Regions from separate parts of the Homo sapiens genome. Here all the other regions are linked to region 1. Evidence: promoter capture Hi-C in human tissues and cell types (Jung and others, 2019). All regions are on one chromosome and are shown on one strand. The core of a region is centred on a gene start or on the middle of the fragment in contact, and the rest is flanking DNA. Distances in the headings are between cores, read along the strand shown.

Region 1 (2,942 bases), core at 325-2,824:
GGCGGGCGACTGGCGCCGGGAGGAAGCCACAGTTTGAACATTTAACCAAACACTCAAAGATTGGGCAAACCCTGGCGTCCAGATGCAACACACACACTCGCCTCGACAGCGCAAATTAAACATTAAAATAGCAGAGACTCAAGGGAAAAACTTCCCAACCCAATCTCCTATTTGGATCTCCAACAGCAGTGCTACAGGCGCCAGTCTGCTTCTCGTAACAATTATTTGATTGAAAACAGCCCTTTAGTTAACAGATAGGGAAGTCTGGGATCCCACATCACAGGGTTGAAGGCACAGGGTAGCAATCCTCAACTAGCCCAGAGAATCCCAGAGGACTATAGTTTTAGGGAAGGAGGATCACTATGGAATTTGTGGCGGTAAGATTAATTACAGTGGAGGTTAGTACCTCATAGTACCAGAGGACTCGTAGGAAGATCCAGGGCATTACATTTGCTACAAAGCCAATACACACGTTCCTCGGCCGCCTTCGTAGTAAGTTATTGGCATCATTTCCTTTTAAAGGAAAATGTTCTGTGATCTCGAGCACCCAAAGCTACAAGCTCCTTCATGTCTAGTGAGACAATGTAGTACGGGTAACACCGCGAAGTAAGCATGCATTTACCAAATCAGACATTTTATAGATACACAAGCAAAAACACATGCGCGCGCGCGCACACACACCGAGGGGCAGTTTACCCACGGGTGGCACAAGCAAACACTCACCGCTTATTCAGCCACACAGTGCTTTGCTGTCATTTGACATTAACTCAGAAGGGAATTCAGAAGCCTGGAAAGAAAGAGGATAAAGAGTACGAGGTTAAGACAATGTTAAGTAGAAAGGGTTTTTTTTTTTTTTTTTTTTTTTTTGTAGTCCACAGACCAGCAAGTTCCATTAAACACGTTTATGGTAACAATTCAGATTTAAAGACAGACGCATTAACATGTCAGAACTTACTAGCAATTTCACGCACAGCTCAATCTACAGCAGATTCTGAAGAAAATAAAGTTAAATAGCTCATACGAAAGTCACCGTCTGGGCTACGGATCTCCTAGTGACAGCCCAGACGACCGCGGGAGTGTGCGGCGGCGGGGCGGGGACCCCGGAGCAGGTCTTACCTGCAAGGACAGGATGCTGATATCCGTGTTGAGGGTGGTCAGCGGCGTCCTGGACGCCTGGTTCTGCCCGGGTCTCTGGTGATGCAGGCTGACAATAGTGGGATGCGAGTCCAGGGCGATCTGCAGGTCCAAGATGTAGTCGATGACGTGCTGCAGGATTTCCATCTTGCTCACCTTCTTGTTCTGGGGGATGCTGGGCACCAGCTCCTTGAGCTTGGAGTAGCAGTCGTTCATGTTGTATAGCAGGCTCATCGGGTCGTCCACAGGGGTTTTGCTCCGGGAGATGCCCAGGCTGTGGTCCGACAGGCTGTTTTTCCTAACGGACCTCACGGGACTGAAGGCTTTCATGCTGACCGCGAGGGAAGGCGAGACCGGGAGGGAGCTGGCTGCCCTGAAGCTCAGGCCGCCGCTGCCGCCTGCTGAGCTAGCTGCGCTTGGCACCGGGCTCGGCTCAGAATGAAGCCCGAGCCCGGCGGGGCGGCTTTTATCCGCACTCGCCGGGGCCACACGCTGGAGCTTCCCTTCGTCCCCATTGGCGGAAGGTGGCACGTCTATCAAGACGAGCGGGCGCTTCCATTGGTGGGCGCGGGCGCGGGGCGTGGGCTTGGTTCTTCCGCGTTCGCAGCCAATCCCCGCGGGGTGGGCGGGGCGCGAGCCCAGCTGGGGTGGTAAATAGAGTACAGTACAGTAAGTGCGGGGCTGGCGGGGGGCGGGGGGCGGGGAGCGGCGGGCGGGGGGCGGGGAGGAGGGAGGCGGGAGGAGGGAGAGGAGGAGGGAGGAGGAAGAGAAGGGAAGATGGGGGAGGGGAAGGGGGAGGGGAAGGGGGAGGGGAAGGAGGAGGGAGAAGGGGGCAGACCCTGGGCGCCTAAATATGCATTCTTAATTCTAATTCCAAGCGCGCGGCGGGACCCTTGCCCTGGGGGTGTTCCCAGACCAAGCCCTACACACCTTAGAGCTGTCGGCAGCTCTAAAATCACAGCTACACGGGCGAGTTCAGCACCGCAGGGGGGAAGCCACAGTTCACTGCAACCCATCGGAGGGAGAGCGTGAGGAAAGATAGAAAGCATTTCAGAAGAAAGTGAAAACGCAAATTAGGTTGTCACTGAAGAGTCACGTTTGTAGAGTGAGTTCGTCTCTTCAGATAAGGAAAAGTTATGTTAACACAAACAAACCACCCACGCACGCATTCGACGACAGGCTTAGTGTGGGCTTTTGCAACCCGGAGCAGCGCGGGAGGCATTACTGTAAACTCAAGAAAATGAGTACTTATTGCAAACCATGCCCAACCTCACCGGTCGCTAAGGAGCTCTCACAGGCAGGGCGCTTTCAGGGTTCCTTTTCAAGAAGGAGGCAGGGCTATTATAATGATCGTATTAATCGGAAATAATTAGGAGAATTTGCATATTGAAACTACATTTACATACACTGCCCTTGAAAGGCTGCCGGTCTGTGCCCTTCCGTGTAGGTGGCAAAGTAATGTGATTAATTATGCACTAATTGTGATTTCTGGTGTCACATTCCAACACCTAGAGGAGTTCCAAAGCTTTGTGACAGATAGGTGGCCCTAGCCATTGATAGACATCTTCACACTAAGGAAAAAAAAATATTCTGTCATATGAGGTTTGGAATCTTTTCAGCACTAGTACTGAATACGGGTTCAAGGTTTTTTTTTTTTTTTTTGGCTGAAAATCTTTTAAGAACTCGTTCTTTCAGTCTAAGTTTTAAAAAGTTTGCAGCTATTTACTTAAATACCTTAATTTTCACATAATTGTAGCTTATCTAGAATTCTGTTTTGACCACAGTGTGTCAGTTTCTTGTTTTTGAAA
Region 2 (3,049 bases), core at 511-3,010, 1.5 Mb after region 1:
GCTCATTTTCTGAAATGTAAGGAATCTTTCACAGTGTTAATTCTAGTGATAACCCATACTTTATTTTGAAAAAAAATATTTATGTTGTCATTTAACTCTTCTAATGCCTTTTTGATATTTGGAGGAGGGAGAATTAATTTGTGCATTGGAGCAATTTGGGGAATAGGCATGGAGCTCCCAGAGCAGGCTTTTCAACTTTTAAAGCCCATATAAATCACTAGGAATCTTCATAAACTGCATATCCTGATTCAGTAGTGCTGAGGCAGGGCCTAGAAAAGTGTTTGTAACAAGATCCCAGATGGTGCCTCTGCTGCTGCACAGCAAGGTCCTAGAGAATGTTGGGCAATGACATGGGATGAATATAAGATTCCTCATGCTGCCTCAGTTCTGTAAAACCTGGGTGTTAGAACATCCATGCATACTCCTACAAAAGCAGACATGGTTCTAGATGTTTGACATAAACTTTAAAACAACAATAACAAAACTCTCCTAAAAGTCTCAATTTTGTTGCCAAAGACAGCTGACGTATATGTCACTGATGCAATAAATTTGGGGTTCATATAATGTAGGATGTGGTAGTTATTCTCATGTCTGCTCAAATTTCATTTGTTTCTAGTGGAGAGAATATTACTAATCCATCATCTTAGGAATGCTATTTAGAAAACCCACCCAGTCAAGCTATACTTTTTCTGGGCAAAAGGACATCAAAACATTTAGTGATGTTTGCCTTTAAAACTTAGCGATTACCTGACCATAATCAAAAGTACCATCTCCTGAGGAAAAACTTTTCACAAATATGAGGATATTTCAAAATGTTCATGAAGAATGCACGCCATGAAAAAGCTATGCATGAATTTAAAAAATTTTTGCACCAAAATAAACTTTGACTAACTTATAGTGCATCTGAACAGGATCTAGTTTGAGGTACTAAGAAAGACAAAAACACCAGTTTGAAAAGAACCCCTATCAGAGCAACAGGAATTCTAAAATTAAAGCAAGAATAAACATCAAATATGTGGTAAAACTTGGGTGAAAGAATGGGAAATTATTGATGCTTTATGAGTTTTGTGGGGACAATTTCAAAAAGAAATCAGCAGTTTACATATAGATAACTCATTTTAAGATGAGATAAGATGATGTTGAAGATGAAGCCCATAGCAGTAGACCATCCCCATCATTTATGAGAATAAATATTAATTTTGTTTGTGCCCTAATTAAAGAGAACTGGTGATTAATAGCATAAGGAATAGCAAACACCATAGACATCTCAAATAGTTCAGCTTAGACAACTCTGACTAAAAAATTAAAGTTGAGCAAAATTTCATGTAATGGGTGTCAAAATCATTGCACACAGATTAGCTAGAGACAAGTACAGAGCTCTCAATAGGCATTTTTTTAAATGGTGAGATTAAGATCCTGAGCTTTTTTTTTTTCGTTTATTTTTTTCTATTTTTTTATTTTTTTGAGACTGAGTCTCATTCTATTGCCAGTCTGGAGTGCAGTGGTGCCATCTCAGCTCACTGCAAACTCCAATTCCCTGGTTCAAATGATTCTCCTGCCTCAGCCTCCCAAGTAGCTGGATTACAGGCACGTGCCACCATACCCAGCTAATTTTTGTATTTTTAGTAGATATGGGGTTTCACCATGTTGGCCAGGATGGTCTTGATCTCCTGACCTCATGATCCACCCACCTTGGCCTCCCAAAGCGCTGGGATTACAGGTGTGAGCCACTGTACTGGCCCTGAGCATATTTTTGAAGAATACTTATGGGAGATAAAACACAGCTTTACCAGTACCATGCTGAAGACAATGCACAATCAGAGCAATGGCTACCAAGAGGTGTAGGTGGCCCAATCAAACCAAAAATAAACAAGTTAAGAACAAGAGTCATGGAAAAACTTTTTTGAAATTCTCAAGTCATTTTCCTTGTTGACTTTCTGGAGGACCAAGCAATGATAATATCTGCTGATTATCAGAGTGTTTTCAGAAAGTTAGCCAAACCTTTAGCAGAAAAACACCTGGGAAAGCTTCACCAGAGAGTCCCTCTCAACCATCACAATGCTCATGGTCATTTCTCTCACAAAACAAAGGTAATTTTCTAAGAGTTTCCATAAAAATTATTAGGTATCCACCTTACAGTCCTGATTTGGCCAGTTTTGACTCTTTTTTGTTTTCTAATCATAAAAAAAATCTATAAAGGAAAGCCATTTTTCTTTCATTGAAAATGTAAAAAAGACTTCATTGCTAAATCTAAATTTCCAGGACCCTCAGTTTTTTTAGGGATGAACTAAATTGCTGGTATCATCACTTATAAAACTGTCTTGACCATAATGGAGCTTATGTTAAGAAATAAAGTTTATATTTTAAAAATTTTATCTTTTAATTCCATTTTTCATAAACTTTTTGAAGTCCCTTTATATATTATTATGTAACCCCTTTTTCTAAGGCTGCACTTCAATTACATTTTTGTCTGTTGGTGAAAGTACAAGCATTACAATTCTCCATGAATAAAAATCTCACTAGCAATGCCTTTTTTTTAACAATTAAGGAAGGAGAGGCACAGGAGAATTGTAACTAATCCCAGGCCACTCAACAATTTAGGAAAAGAATCATGGCGAAGACCCATGTGGTGATTTCCAGTCTAATTTCTGTCTATGCTGCTGTAACATATAACTTTTAAGTACGGTCAATCCTCATTATACATGGATTCTGTATTTGCGAGTTCTCTCCTAAAATTTATTTTAACCCCCAAATCAATGCTATTGGCACTTTTGTAGTCATTTACAATGTGGGCAGAGAAGCAAAATATTTGAATCATCCAAAGCACAAGTTCCCAGCTGAGACTGAACAAGGCAACACTCTGCCTTCTTGTTTCAGCTCTCAGACTCTAAATAAGTGTCCCTTTTAAGGTCTATGTATGCTACATCTTTTGCTGGTGATTTTGCTGTTTAAAATGACCTCTACGCATAGTTCTGAAGATCTGTCTTGTGTACCTACGTGCAAGAAGACTATGATGTGCCTTATGGAAAAAATATGTCGGTTTTAGATA
Region 3 (2,858 bases), core at 344-2,843, 1.3 Mb after region 1:
AGACCCTGTTTTCCATTCCTCTTGTGTCCACCAGGCCCAATCCTATTCAAAGCTGCTTGGGTCACCTCAGATTAAGTCACTGCTATAAATAGAATTTTGTCCCCCCAAAATTCCTATGTGGAAGCCCTAGCCCGCAATGCGATGGTAGTTAGAGACAGGGCTTTGGGAGGGTCATTAGGTTGAGATGAGGTCATGAGGGTAAGGCTCCCATGATAGGATTAGTGCCCTTATAAGAAACAGCTCTCTCTCCATCTCTTTGTCTTTCTCTCCCTCTCTTTCTCTGCAGATGCACCAAGCAAAGGCCATGTGAACACACACAATATGATGTCTGTTTACAAGACAGGAAGAGATGCTTCACCAGAGCATGACCTTGCTGGCACTATGATCTTGGACTTCCAGTCTCCAGAACTGTGAGCAAGTACATTTCTGTTGCTTACGCCAACAGAAGTGTGGAATTTTACTATGGCAGCCCTAGCTGACTGAGACACTCGCCATTCTCTTTGAAACTAGATGCCACCAATGTGAAAGTCCTTACATTTTCCTGTGAAGTCTCCACATGTGCATGCTGAGCTCCTGAGAACAGACCCTGTCTTATATGTGACTCTAGTCACAGGCACTTCTGAGTACCTGCTCTGTTAGCCACTGTGCTAGAGGGAACTGAGATGAATCCTGCCTCATGGAATCCAGAGGAGATAGCTGTGCATGCTAAGAACTAGAATGATACACAGAATGCCAGGCAACCTCCACTATAAATGGTATGAAGGGCCTGATTCTTAGAACTTCTTTATCAGGTTTGCTTTACTGATTGAAAAACAATCTAGAATATCAGTGTAAAAAGTTAAAAAAAAAAAAAGAGTTTAGAGGAATAGAGTTTGCCCAAGACAGTTAGAGGATACAGTCCCCAAGACCTCTCTTACTTCTGACATGAACCTCAAGGTTGGCGGGGGGATCCACAAACTACCCTCAGTTTTGAAAATTTACTAGAAGGGCTCACAGAACAGTTACACCCATGGCTTTGGTTTATTGCAGGGAAAGGATACAGATTAAAATCAGCCAGAGGAAGAGATGCTTAGGGCAGAGTCTGAGAGGGTTTCAAACAGAAGCTTCAACGGCCCTCTCGCCTTGAAGTGAGTTCACCTCACCCTCCTGGCATCAATGTGTGGCGATAGGCAGGGAGTGCTGTCAACCAGGAAAGCTCTCCTGGGTGTCTCTATTCAGTCTTCCTGGAGCTCTAGTCTGTAGGATTGAATGAAACACTTGAGGTGGTGATTGTTTTGTCCCTGAGTCACTGGATCTGGATGACTCTTATCAAAATTGATGAAGGGGACGATAGGGGACTGGGGAATTTCTTTAATAAGCTGGAGGCAGGAATAAATTGCCATTTAAGCCTCACTCCCAGGCTGAGTCCAGAAAAATTATTTTTAGGTGTGTATCTATGCTAGGCTGTAGGGTAAATACAATAGGCTAGAGAAAGAAAAGTTATTTCTTAGAAGTCAAGTATTCATGAAGTAGGCATAAAATAAAACTATTCAACTAAGTGCTTTGGATACATAGTAGAAAAAAGATATAAAAATATTTTGAATCTAAGAAAGTCAAGACGTTATGTGACTCAAGATGGTCTGCATGTGACAATAGTTGCCAAAGCATGTATTGTGTTGGAACCGCTCACCACACCATCAGCTGAAAGAAGGTTGAGACATTTGGTGTCATATCTAAAGACCTTTTTGATCTGGCCTCGGCCTATTTTCCTTGGGGGTTGAGTGCTTTCTCTCACCTCCTTTGCCTTTGCACATGGTTTTCAATCTATCTGAAAGGAAACGTGAGCCAATACTACCACTACCAAAGTCTTTTGGCCTTATGAGCACCATGTTTTCTCAAGCCTCACCCCATGTATAAAGCCATCCCCAACTCCTCCAGGTATAGTCTTGGGACATTGACTTCCACAGCTGTTCTTCACCTACCTTCCCCAGTCTCCACAGAACCACCACCACCACCACCACCACCACCACCACCACCACCACCACCACCATCACCACCACCATAACCACCACCACCGGCAACTCCAATGTCATGGCTTTCCTGAAGCCCGTGCAGTGTCCCTAGATGGTGCCCCTGCTGCGCTTCCTTCCCATGCTCCTCTTGAGAGAGATGTCCATACTCCCACATGTAGCAGAGTTTATATAGAGGCTTATACTCACTCCACTGCCAGACTGCAATCCTTGAGAAGAAACACAGATGTTTGATTCATTGTTGTATGCCTACAATGACCAGCATCTAATAAGAAAACTAGCATTGATAGAAGGAGAGAAAAGAATAGAGCAACTCTGCAAGAATATAGGTTGAATAAGTATGTGTTGGCTGAACAATGTAATTTTATTAACGAGGATACGTTTTACCACTATTTACATAGAGGCTATTGTACTCTGCTGGAACTCTCATTGCATTAGTTTCCTAAGGGCTGCCCTAACAAAGTACTACATCCTGGGTAGCATAAAATAAGAGGAATGGCTCCTCTCACAGCGTTGGAGGCTAGAAGTCAAGTCAGGGCACTGGCAGGGTCATAATCCCTCTGAAGCCTCTAAGGGAATCTCCTTCCTTGTCTCTTCCAGCTACTGGTAGCCCCAGCCTTCCCTTGGCTTGTGATACACAACTCATATCTCAGCTTCTATCCCCACATAGCTGTCTTCACATAGTCTTCACTCTGTGGACACCTGCCTTCACATTTTCTTCTTTTTATAAAGACACTTGTTCTATTGTATTAGGAGCCCACCTCACTCCAGGATGACTTCATTTTAACTTAACTAATTACATCTGTAACATGACTTAGTTTCCAAATAAGGTTGCATTTTGAGTTTCTG
Region 4 (2,932 bases), core at 150-2,649, 1.1 Mb after region 1:
CTTAACAGATATTTACAGGATATTCTAGCCAACAACTGCAAAATATACATTCTACTCATCGGCACATGGAAAATTCTCCAAGATAGACCATATGATATGGCAGAAAATGACTCTTAGTAAATTTAAGAAAATCAAAATTACATCAAGCACTCTTTCAGACCACAGTGGAATAAAATTGGAAATTAAATCCAAAAAGAACCCTCAAAACCATGCAAACACATAGAAATTAAATAACTTGCTCCTGAATGATCACTGGGTCAACAATGAAATAAAGATGAAAATTAAAAAATTCTTTGAACTGAACAATAATAGTGACACAACTTACCAAAACCTCTGAGATATAGCAAAAGTAGTGCTAAGAAGAAAATTCGTAGCATTAAATGCCCACATCAAAAAGTCTGAAAGAGCACAAATAGATAATCTAAGGTCACACCTCACAGACCTGGAGAAACAAGAACAATCCAACCCAAACATAGCAGAAGAAAAGAATAACAAAGATCAGAGCAGAACTAAATGTAATTGAAACAAAAAAATACAAAAGATAAATGAAACAAAAAGCTGGTTCTTTGAAAAGATAAATTGATAGACCGTTAGTAAGATTAACCAAGAAAAGAAAAGATCCAAATAAGCTCAACTAGAAATGAAATAAGAGATATTACTACTGATACCAAAGAAATACAAAAGGTTATTCAAGGCTACTGTAAACACCTTTACATGCACAAACTAGAAAATCTAGAGGAGATGGATAGATTCCTGGAAATACACAACCCTCCTACATTAAGCCAGAAAGATATAGAAACTCTGAACAGACCAATAACAAGCAGCAAGATTGAAATGGGAATTTAAAAATTGTCAACAAAAAAAGTCCAGGACAAGACAGAGTCATAGCTAAATTCTATCAGACATTCAAAGAAGAAGTGGTCCCAATCCTACTGACACTATTCTACAGAAAAGAGAAGGAGGGAATTCTCCCTAAATCATTCTATGAAACCAATATTACCCTAATTCCAAAACCAGGGAAGGACATAACAAAAAAATAAACTGTAGGCCAATACCCCTGTTAAACATAGATGCAAAAATCCTCAAAAAATACTAGCTAACTGAGTCCAACAGCATATCATCAAAAAGAAAATCCACCATGATCAAGTGGGTTTCATACCAGTGATGTGGAAATGGTTTAACAACCACAAGTCAATAAATGTTATACACCACATAAACAGAATTAAAAACATAAATCACATGATCATCTCAATAGATGCAGAAAACACCTTTGACAAAATCCAGCATCCTTTTATGATTAAAACTTTCAGCAAAATCTGAATGGAAGGGACATACCTTAAGGTAATAAAAGCCATCTATGACAAACCCACAGCCAACATTATACTGAACAGGAGAAAGTTGAAAGCATTCCCCCTGAGAACTGGAACAAGAAAAGTGTGTCCACTTTCACTGCTTCTATTCAACATGGTACTGGAAGTTCTAGCCAGAGCAATCAGACAAGAGAAAAAAATCAAGGGCATCCAAACTGGTAAAGAGGAAATCAAACTGCTGCTCTTTGCTGATGACATGATTGTATACCTAGAAAACCCTCAAGACTCACTCAAAAAGCTCCTAGAACTGGTAAATGAATTAAGCAAAGTTTCAGGATACAAAATCAATGTACACAAATCAGTAGCTCTGCTATACACCAGCAGTGACAAAGCTGAGAATCAAATCAAAAACTCAACCTGTGTTACAATAGCTGCAACAAAAAATAAAATACTTAGGAATATACCTAACCAAGGAGGTGAAAGACCTCTACAAGGAAAGCTACAAAACACTGCTGAAAGAAATCATAGACAACACAAACAAACGGAAACACCTTCCATGCTCATGGAAGGGTAGAATCAATATTGTGAAAATGACCATACTGCCAAAGCAATCTACCAATTCAATACAATTCCCATCAAAATACCACCATCATTCTTCACAGTACTAGAAAAAAACAATCTTAACATTCGTATAAAATGAAAAAAGAGCCTGCGAAACAAGCAAGACTAAGGAAAAAGAACAAATCTGGAGGCATCACATTACCTGACTTCAAACTATACTTTAAGGCCATAGTCACCCAAACAACATGGTACTGGTATAAAAAGAGGCACATAGACCAAGAAACAGAATAGATAATCCAAAAATAAAGCCAGATAGTTACAGCCAGCTGATCTTTGACAAAGCCAACAAAAACATAAAGAATGAAAGGACACCCTATTGAACAAATGGCGCTGGGATAATTGGCAAGCCACATGCAGAAGAATGAAACTTGATCCTCATCTCTCACCTTATACAAAAATCAACTCAAGATAGATCAAAGACTTAAATCTAAGACCAGAAACCATAAAAATTCTAGAAGATAACATCAGAAACCCCACCCCCACCCCGCCCAGACATTGCTTAGGCAAAGACTTTGTGACACAGAACCCAAAAGCAAATACAACAAAAACAAAGATAAATAGATGGGACTTAATTAACAAAAAAGCTTCTGCACAGCAAAATAAATAATCAGCAGTTAAAAGACAACATACAGAGTGGGAGAAAATCTTCACAGTCTATATATCTGACAAAGGACGAATATCCAGAATCTACAAAGAATTCAAACAAATCAGTAAGAAAATAAATCAATCTGATCAAAAAGTGGGCTAAGGACATAAATAGACAATTCTCAAAAAAAGATATACAAATGGACAACAAGCATATGGAAAAATGCTTAACATCACTAATTATCAGGGAAATGCAAATCAAAACTACAATTCAATAGCACCTCACTCCTGCAACAATGGCCATAATAAAAAAATGAAAAGATAATAAATGTTGGTATGGATGTAGTGAAAAGAGAACACTTTTACACTGTTGGTGGGAATGTAAACTAGTACAAACACTATGGAAAATAGTATGG
Region 5 (3,115 bases), core at 221-2,720, 1.1 Mb after region 1:
GGGAGTCCACAGAGGCAGCTTATGTGAAACGTCTTGTTAACTCTGCTGCTTCACAGATAGAGGGGTTAGTCCTGGGCTTCTTCAGGACCACGCATAAGAAACTAAATCAGCAGGAATGAAATGCATGTGGAAATCAGGAACTACTCCGGGAGTGATGGATTCATCTCTTTACTTATTCATTTACTTTTTCTTCACTTAAGATTTCCTGGGTGTATTCTGCGTGTCCGACATGATTCTCAATGCTGGGCTCACACAAGGGAACAAAAACGACACAGCTGCTGCCCTTCTAGGACTTACATTTTAGCAGATGGGGCAGCCCACAGACCACCAGATAAACGTATGATGTCACGTGGTGAGAAGGTATGACGGAGATTTCTGAGGAGGGGATATTTGAGCAGAGTCCTGAACGATGGGCACATGATCCCATGTGCATATCCAGGTGGTGGGCACAGCAAGACCAAGTATCTCAGGCAGGGCTTTGCTGGGTTTGCTTGAGGATCAGGAAGAAAATCTGCAGAGCAGCAGCAGGAGGCGTGGTGGGACTCAGGCTGGGGTGCATGGCAGGCTGCAGGAGGGGCTTATGGTACTGGTGAGGCCGTGGGTTTTAACTGAGAGAGGAAGCCATTGTAGGGTGGTCTTCAGTAGAAGAACTTTGTGACCTAATTTAATTGTCAATGGCTCACTCTCACCTGTAGAAGGAGAGACCAGGGCAGCTGAGATGGGGAGGTCAGCAAAGAGCCCATTACAACAGTCCAGGGACCAGCGATGGTGGGACAGGCTAAAGGCTTACTGGCATAGGATGTTCTTTGAAAGAGCTGTTGACCCAGCTCTTGGGGTCTGCTTTGAAAGACTTCACTCCCGTTGAAATCAACATGCCTGCATTGTATGCACAAGGCCCTCGTCGCCACAGCCACTGGGACGTTCTAGGTGGTCTTTGAGGTGTGCACATCACACAAGGATCAAGAGAATATGAAAAATCCAGAACATAGCTTGTGGTCCTCAGAGGAGGAATTTGATAATTTGGACCTCACGTTTTGCTCAAATGTTACTGATTTTCTGTGTTATGCATGCACACGTGTGTGTGATATTGACACATCCTGCTTATGAACAAAACGTAACTCAGAGTTACTCATTTTTATGAATTCATGCTAAATGCAAGCATTGCCCTAAGCTTATTACCTATTATCTCATTTAATTATCACAAGAAACGAAGACTGGTATTATTATACTTTTTCAGAGATAAGGAAACTTGAAGCCCAAAGACTCTAAGACCTTGCCCAAGGTTTCAAAGATAATAACTAAAATAACAGGCATTGTCCTAACAGTTCCGTCTGATGACAGACCTCATGGTCTTTGAACAATACCATGCTGCCTAACTGAAGAATTTCAGATGAGAACTTCAGACAAATATTTGTAGCAGATTACCATAGGGTGACTCACTCAAGCACCCATTCCTGTTCTTCTTTACCCTTGCTTTCTTCTTTTATAAAGTCAGGAAAGCAGCAGCCATAGTAGCTCATGCCTGTAATGCCAGCACTTTGGGAGGCCAAGGAGGAAAGATCGCTTCAGCCCAGGAGTTTGAGACTAGCCTGGACAATATGGTGAGACCTGTCTCTACAAAAAAATATTTTAAAAATAGCCAGAATTGGTGGCACATACCTGTAGTCTCAGCTACCCAGGAGGCTGAGGCAGGAGGATCGCTTGAGCCCAAAGCTGCTGTGAGCTGTGATTGCACCACTGCACTCCAGCCCGAGTGACAGAGAAAGACCCTATCTCAAAAAAAAAAAAAAAAAAAGACAGGAAAGCCACATATCTGATGTTTGATTTTCATTTCCAGTTTTGAGCTAGCAATAGCCACATAGGACAACTGTGTCCTCTGAGACATGAATGGACATCTGCTGAGAAAGGCTTCTTCTCTAAGTAGAATGCAAAGCCTTGCAAGAAGAAGGGTTTTAAATTCTTCTTCCACCTTCAATGCCTGGCGGTATGGCAGCCATCTTGTGACTATGAGGACAAAAGCCACACAGTCAAAAGAGCAAAGCCAAAAAATAGAAGGAATCTGTGGCTTTGTTATTCGATTGTTCACTGTGAACATCATTGTGACGTCTTTACTGGCTGAGTGTTTTGCATGTTAGCTCCTTGATAGTAATCATCCTCTTTTTTTTTTTAGGTGGAGTCTCGCTCTGTCACCCAGGCTGGAATGCAATGGTGCGATCTTGGCTCACTGCAACCTCTGCCTCCCAGGTTCAAGCGATTCTCCTGCCTCAGCCTCTGGAGCAGCTGGAATTACCAGCATGTGCCACCACGCCCAGTTAATTGTTTGTATTTTTAGTAGAGACAGGATTTCACCATGTTGGTCAGGCTGGTCTCAAACTCCTGACCCCCGTGATCCAACTGCCTCGGCCTACCAAAGTGCTGGGATTACAGGCGTGAGCCACCACACCCAGCCGGTACTTTTAACTGATTTATGCTACAATCTGTAAGAATAGTGGGTTTCTTCCACTTTTCTACATGTTATAGTCTTGAGAAGAACCCTAGTGCTCAAAGGTGTCTTGAGGTCACCTAACTTGAGAGCTGAAGACACTCAGGCCCCGAGGGCCCAGGCTTGAGCAAACACAAGAGTCCTTGCATAGGTTATTTGACTCTCAGCCCATAGTTCCTGCCACTAATTCCAGCTGCCACATCAATCTGAGAATTTAGTGTCTGACTGACACTTTCTATTTCCAGAGCAGAAGCCTGCCTATAGGAACAGTTAGAAACACTTTCTTCTTGGCGATGAAGATTGGAAAGCTGGGGCTGGGATCGAGGTAGGGGTGAGCCGGCTTCTAGGAAAGCCAAGCATCTACAAGTGCATCCACCCCGAGGCATCAAAACAGTGCAGTCTGTGTGGTTAGCTGTTCACGGAAAGCAGATTCAGAAAAGGGCATTTCTGTTGCTTTTAAATTCATATGATTAGAAAAAGGATACTGACTTTTTTAAAAAAGTGATTATTTGGATTATTTACAAGATAAAAAAGTGCAGTGGTTTACTTTCACAGGAGCAATGTAGAAATCTGTTAAAGAAAGAATCTCCAAAGCATGCAAAGCGCTAATGCAAGCCCTGGATTCAGCGGGAG
Region 6 (2,914 bases), core at 2-2,501, 1.4 Mb after region 1:
CCTTGTGCCCAACTTCTGAAGGCATCTCTAGAGACCCTTTCAACCATTGCAGTTCCTCCTCGGCCTACAGAAGCCAGTGGAGGAAAAGATGCTTCTCTTCTGGGTACCACACTAACTGACATGAGGCAGCTTACCTTCTAAGGGAGCTGATCGCTGGAGATGGGTTATGCTAGCCGACTGAGGATTAGAGACAACAGGGTCTTGTTCACAGTGAGCTGGACCTCAGAGTTTTACCATTTGGCATAGAAATTTAACTCTGATCCCATAAAGTACCCTGCTTAGAAAATGGACTGCATCCACTTTAATTATCCAAAGCTTCCCGGCTGCCAGAGCCAGGTGCATAGTCAGGCCCTCGCGCGCTCGTGAACCCCTCAGGATGCAGTTACAGGCACAGTAACTAGAGAAGCACACCCAAATCAAATTTAAATTGTAATTAATTGTTGGATATTCATTTTTAAAACTAGCTTCAAAATCCAAGTTTATACATTTTTTTTTCTTAGATAGATCTACTTTTTCTTTAAAAACTTTACTCTTTAGGTTGGCCTGAATCCGGCCAGTGATCTCATGATTCTAACATTCATGTGAATATTCTGATATGCTTTGAGGACCCTTCTTTTCTTTCTTACAGGTATTGACAAATTAGCACTGCCTGTCTCAGGTAGGGGACACCATTGCTTCTTTAGGAGAAAGCAATATGTGTAGTGGTGAGAACGCAGGTATTGGAGACAGAATTGGCTTCTAATTCTTGTTCTTCTACTTACTAGTTTTATGGTATCAGTCAAATTAAGTATTCTCTTCAAGCCTCAGTTTCCTCATCTGTAAATTGGGGATAATTATAAAAATGGCAGCTATTGTATTTTCATATTATTCTATTTTGCTTTGTCTATTTACTTTTATATTATTTCATAATCCTACATCACTTATAACTTAAAGAATACATCTTCCTGAGGCCAGGCATGGTAACTCATGCCTGTAATCCCAGCATTTTTGGAGGCCGAGACAGGCAGACTGCATGAGCTCAGGAGTTCAAGACAAGCCTGAGCAACAGGGTGGAACCCCATCTCTGCAAAAAATTAGCCAGGTGTGGTGGCATGCACCCGTAGTCTCAGCTACTTGGGAGGCTGAGGATCACCTGAGGCTGGGGAGGTCAAGGCTGCAGTGAGCTGTGATTGCACTACTGCACTGCAGCCTCAGTAACAGAGTGAGACCCTATCAAGAAAAAAAAAAAAAAAAGAATGTCTTCCTTTCCTATAATGCGAATTACTACTAAAAATGTCAACATTGCATTTCTGATTTCCACTCCATGAGTTAAACTCTCCAATTACATCATCACTAAATATTTAGGTGGTTTAATCCATATTTTCCCTATTCATTGAAGAATATAGAAAGTGAAAGCAATTTATAACTTCCCTTTAATACACCTGGATATTAGTTATTGGTTCAATTTGGACTGTGCAGTTTCATAAAGCAAACGGATTTTTCCCCACAAAACTATGAATTTATGAAAGCTGGAAATAAATTATATCCTTTGATACATGTTTTATAGAGACATGAAAAGTGAGGATTAAAATCATTTGTTTTATTTTTTCTTTTTTCAGGATTCACCAATAGGTGTACATTAATATTTTCCTTGCCTTGGAGAATTCAACTCAATTCCAAGTGTTCTAAAAGAGACAAAACAATTTAACACCAAAAGATGTAATCCAATTTCTTGCATACCCCCCTTCCCTGGAAGCTTCATTATAAAGCTTGTCTCAGGCCTTATAGATGACTTTTAAAACCTACTTTAAAAGATTCGGAGTTTAATATGAAATGGTAAAATGTGATAGTGAGGGCTTCTTAATGTGATAGTAAGGGCTTCCTAATGTCCCCAGTAAGAAACATCATTGAATAGAGGACCAAACATGCCATCTTTGTCAGGAGTGGGCACGATCAGAGGCTCCTGAGGAGAGGGCAGCGGGATCCACCTTGTACTGAAAAATCACAGTGGGTCTGAATGTTCGTGTTCCTACAAAACTCATAGGTTGACATCCTGACCCTCAAGGTGACGGTATTAGAAGATGAGATCTTTAGGGAGTGATTAGATCATGGGGATGACAACCTCATGAATAGAATTAGTGTTTTCATAAAAGATGCCCAGGACAGACCATTACCTCCTCCACCGTGTGAGGATACAGCCAGAAGCAGCCACTCATGAATCAGGAAGCGGTCCCTCACCAGACACCAAATCTGCCGGCACCTAGATCTTGGAATTCTAGCCTCCAGAATTGTGAGAAATAAATTTCTGTAGTTTATAAGCCACCCAGTATTTTTGCTGTAGCAGCTGGAATATACTAAGACCGTATCTCTTTTTGTGTCCTTCACTGTCATTGATCAGGAATTTTTAAATTTCAGAAGGAATTCTTATTTTTCAAAGATTAATGAACACACTCATTTTATGTTGACTTCATTGATAAAATCTAGAATAGAATAAAGAAAGAATTCCAAATTCTCATACAGATTTCCTTTAGGACACTCTTCTTAGATACTTAGAAAGGAAACAAAGAAGAAAACTCCTAAAACAATAATGCCAAATTTGAAGAAAAAGCTAAACTTGAAACTTTGTGATTTTAGGCACATTAGTTTCTTTTTAGCTGTATTTTCCATCACCTAACCCATTCAAAATCCTTTTCCTGACATAGTATAACTGAAAGCAGGTAAAGAGGTAAAGGGAAGAATAAGTTTCCTTTGCTCTCTCTGGATGTTGCCTGGGCACTGACATTTGCAATTCAGTATGCTTCTCAGTCCCCAACCGGTCCTGGAAGTCCAGATCATCGTGGAAGCCAAGAACACCTTCTGCCCTCTGATTTTGGCACAGCGGTGGCCACTTCACTCAGATGTGTGCCTCCCGGCAGTTATTCCCGCCGCAGGGCCT

What was found. The method cuts DNA at HindIII sites, captures the fragments that hold promoters and counts their contacts. A contact is called where the count stands out against the background at its distance.
Region 2: a fragment that was not itself captured here is called in contact with the fragment with the promoter of ID2 in region 1 in 1 of the 25 tissues and cell types used here (aorta).
Region 3: a contact is called between a fragment that was not itself captured here and the fragment with the promoter of ID2 in region 1, in 1 of the 25 tissues and cell types used here (dorsolateral prefrontal cortex).
Region 4: a contact is called between a fragment that was not itself captured here and the fragment with the promoter of ID2 in region 1, in 1 of the 25 tissues and cell types used here (mesendoderm cells).
Region 5: a fragment that was not itself captured here is called in contact with the fragment with the promoter of ID2 in region 1 in 1 of the 25 tissues and cell types used here (lymphoblastoid cells).
Region 6: a fragment that was not itself captured here is called in contact with the fragment with the promoter of ID2 in region 1 in 1 of the 25 tissues and cell types used here (dorsolateral prefrontal cortex).

The regions. Positions count from the first base shown.
Region 1 is chr2:8,680,688-8,683,629 of GRCh38, reverse strand. It overlaps ID2 (inhibitor of DNA binding 2), which reads right to left and starts at 1,574. Exons shown (of 3, transcript NM_002166.5): 1 at 1,117-1,574; 2 at 724-787. The coding sequence starts at 1,464. The coding sequence ends at 731. ID2-AS1 (ID2 antisense RNA 1) reads left to right here and starts at 1,767. Exons shown (of 4, transcript NR_110154.1): 1 at 1,767-1,803. RefSeq lists enhancers at 1,335-1,384, 1,872-2,375. The HindIII fragment of the contact is 9,558 bases long and covers 841-2,942 here.
Region 2 is chr2:7,221,178-7,224,226 of GRCh38, reverse strand. No RefSeq gene overlaps it. Among named protein-coding and RNA genes, the nearest start is that of GRASLND, 300 kb to the right of the region's middle. The HindIII fragment of the contact is 7,264 bases long and covers 1-3,049 here.
Region 3 is chr2:7,379,263-7,382,120 of GRCh38, reverse strand. LOC105373406 (a long non-coding RNA gene) reads right to left here and starts at 1,943. Exons shown (of 5, transcript XR_922747.2): 1 at 1-1,943. The HindIII fragment of the contact is 9,223 bases long and covers 1-2,858 here.
Region 4 is chr2:7,534,565-7,537,496 of GRCh38, reverse strand. No RefSeq gene overlaps it. Among named protein-coding and RNA genes, the nearest start is that of LINC01871, 190 kb to the left of the region's middle. The HindIII fragment of the contact is 4,711 bases long and covers 1-2,932 here.
Region 5 is chr2:7,611,438-7,614,552 of GRCh38, reverse strand. No RefSeq gene overlaps it. Among named protein-coding and RNA genes, the nearest start is that of LINC01871, 110 kb to the left of the region's middle. The HindIII fragment of the contact is 3,212 bases long and covers 1-3,076 here.
Region 6 is chr2:7,237,642-7,240,555 of GRCh38, reverse strand. No RefSeq gene overlaps it. Among named protein-coding and RNA genes, the nearest start is that of GRASLND, 320 kb to the right of the region's middle. The HindIII fragment of the contact is 3,186 bases long and covers 1-2,844 here.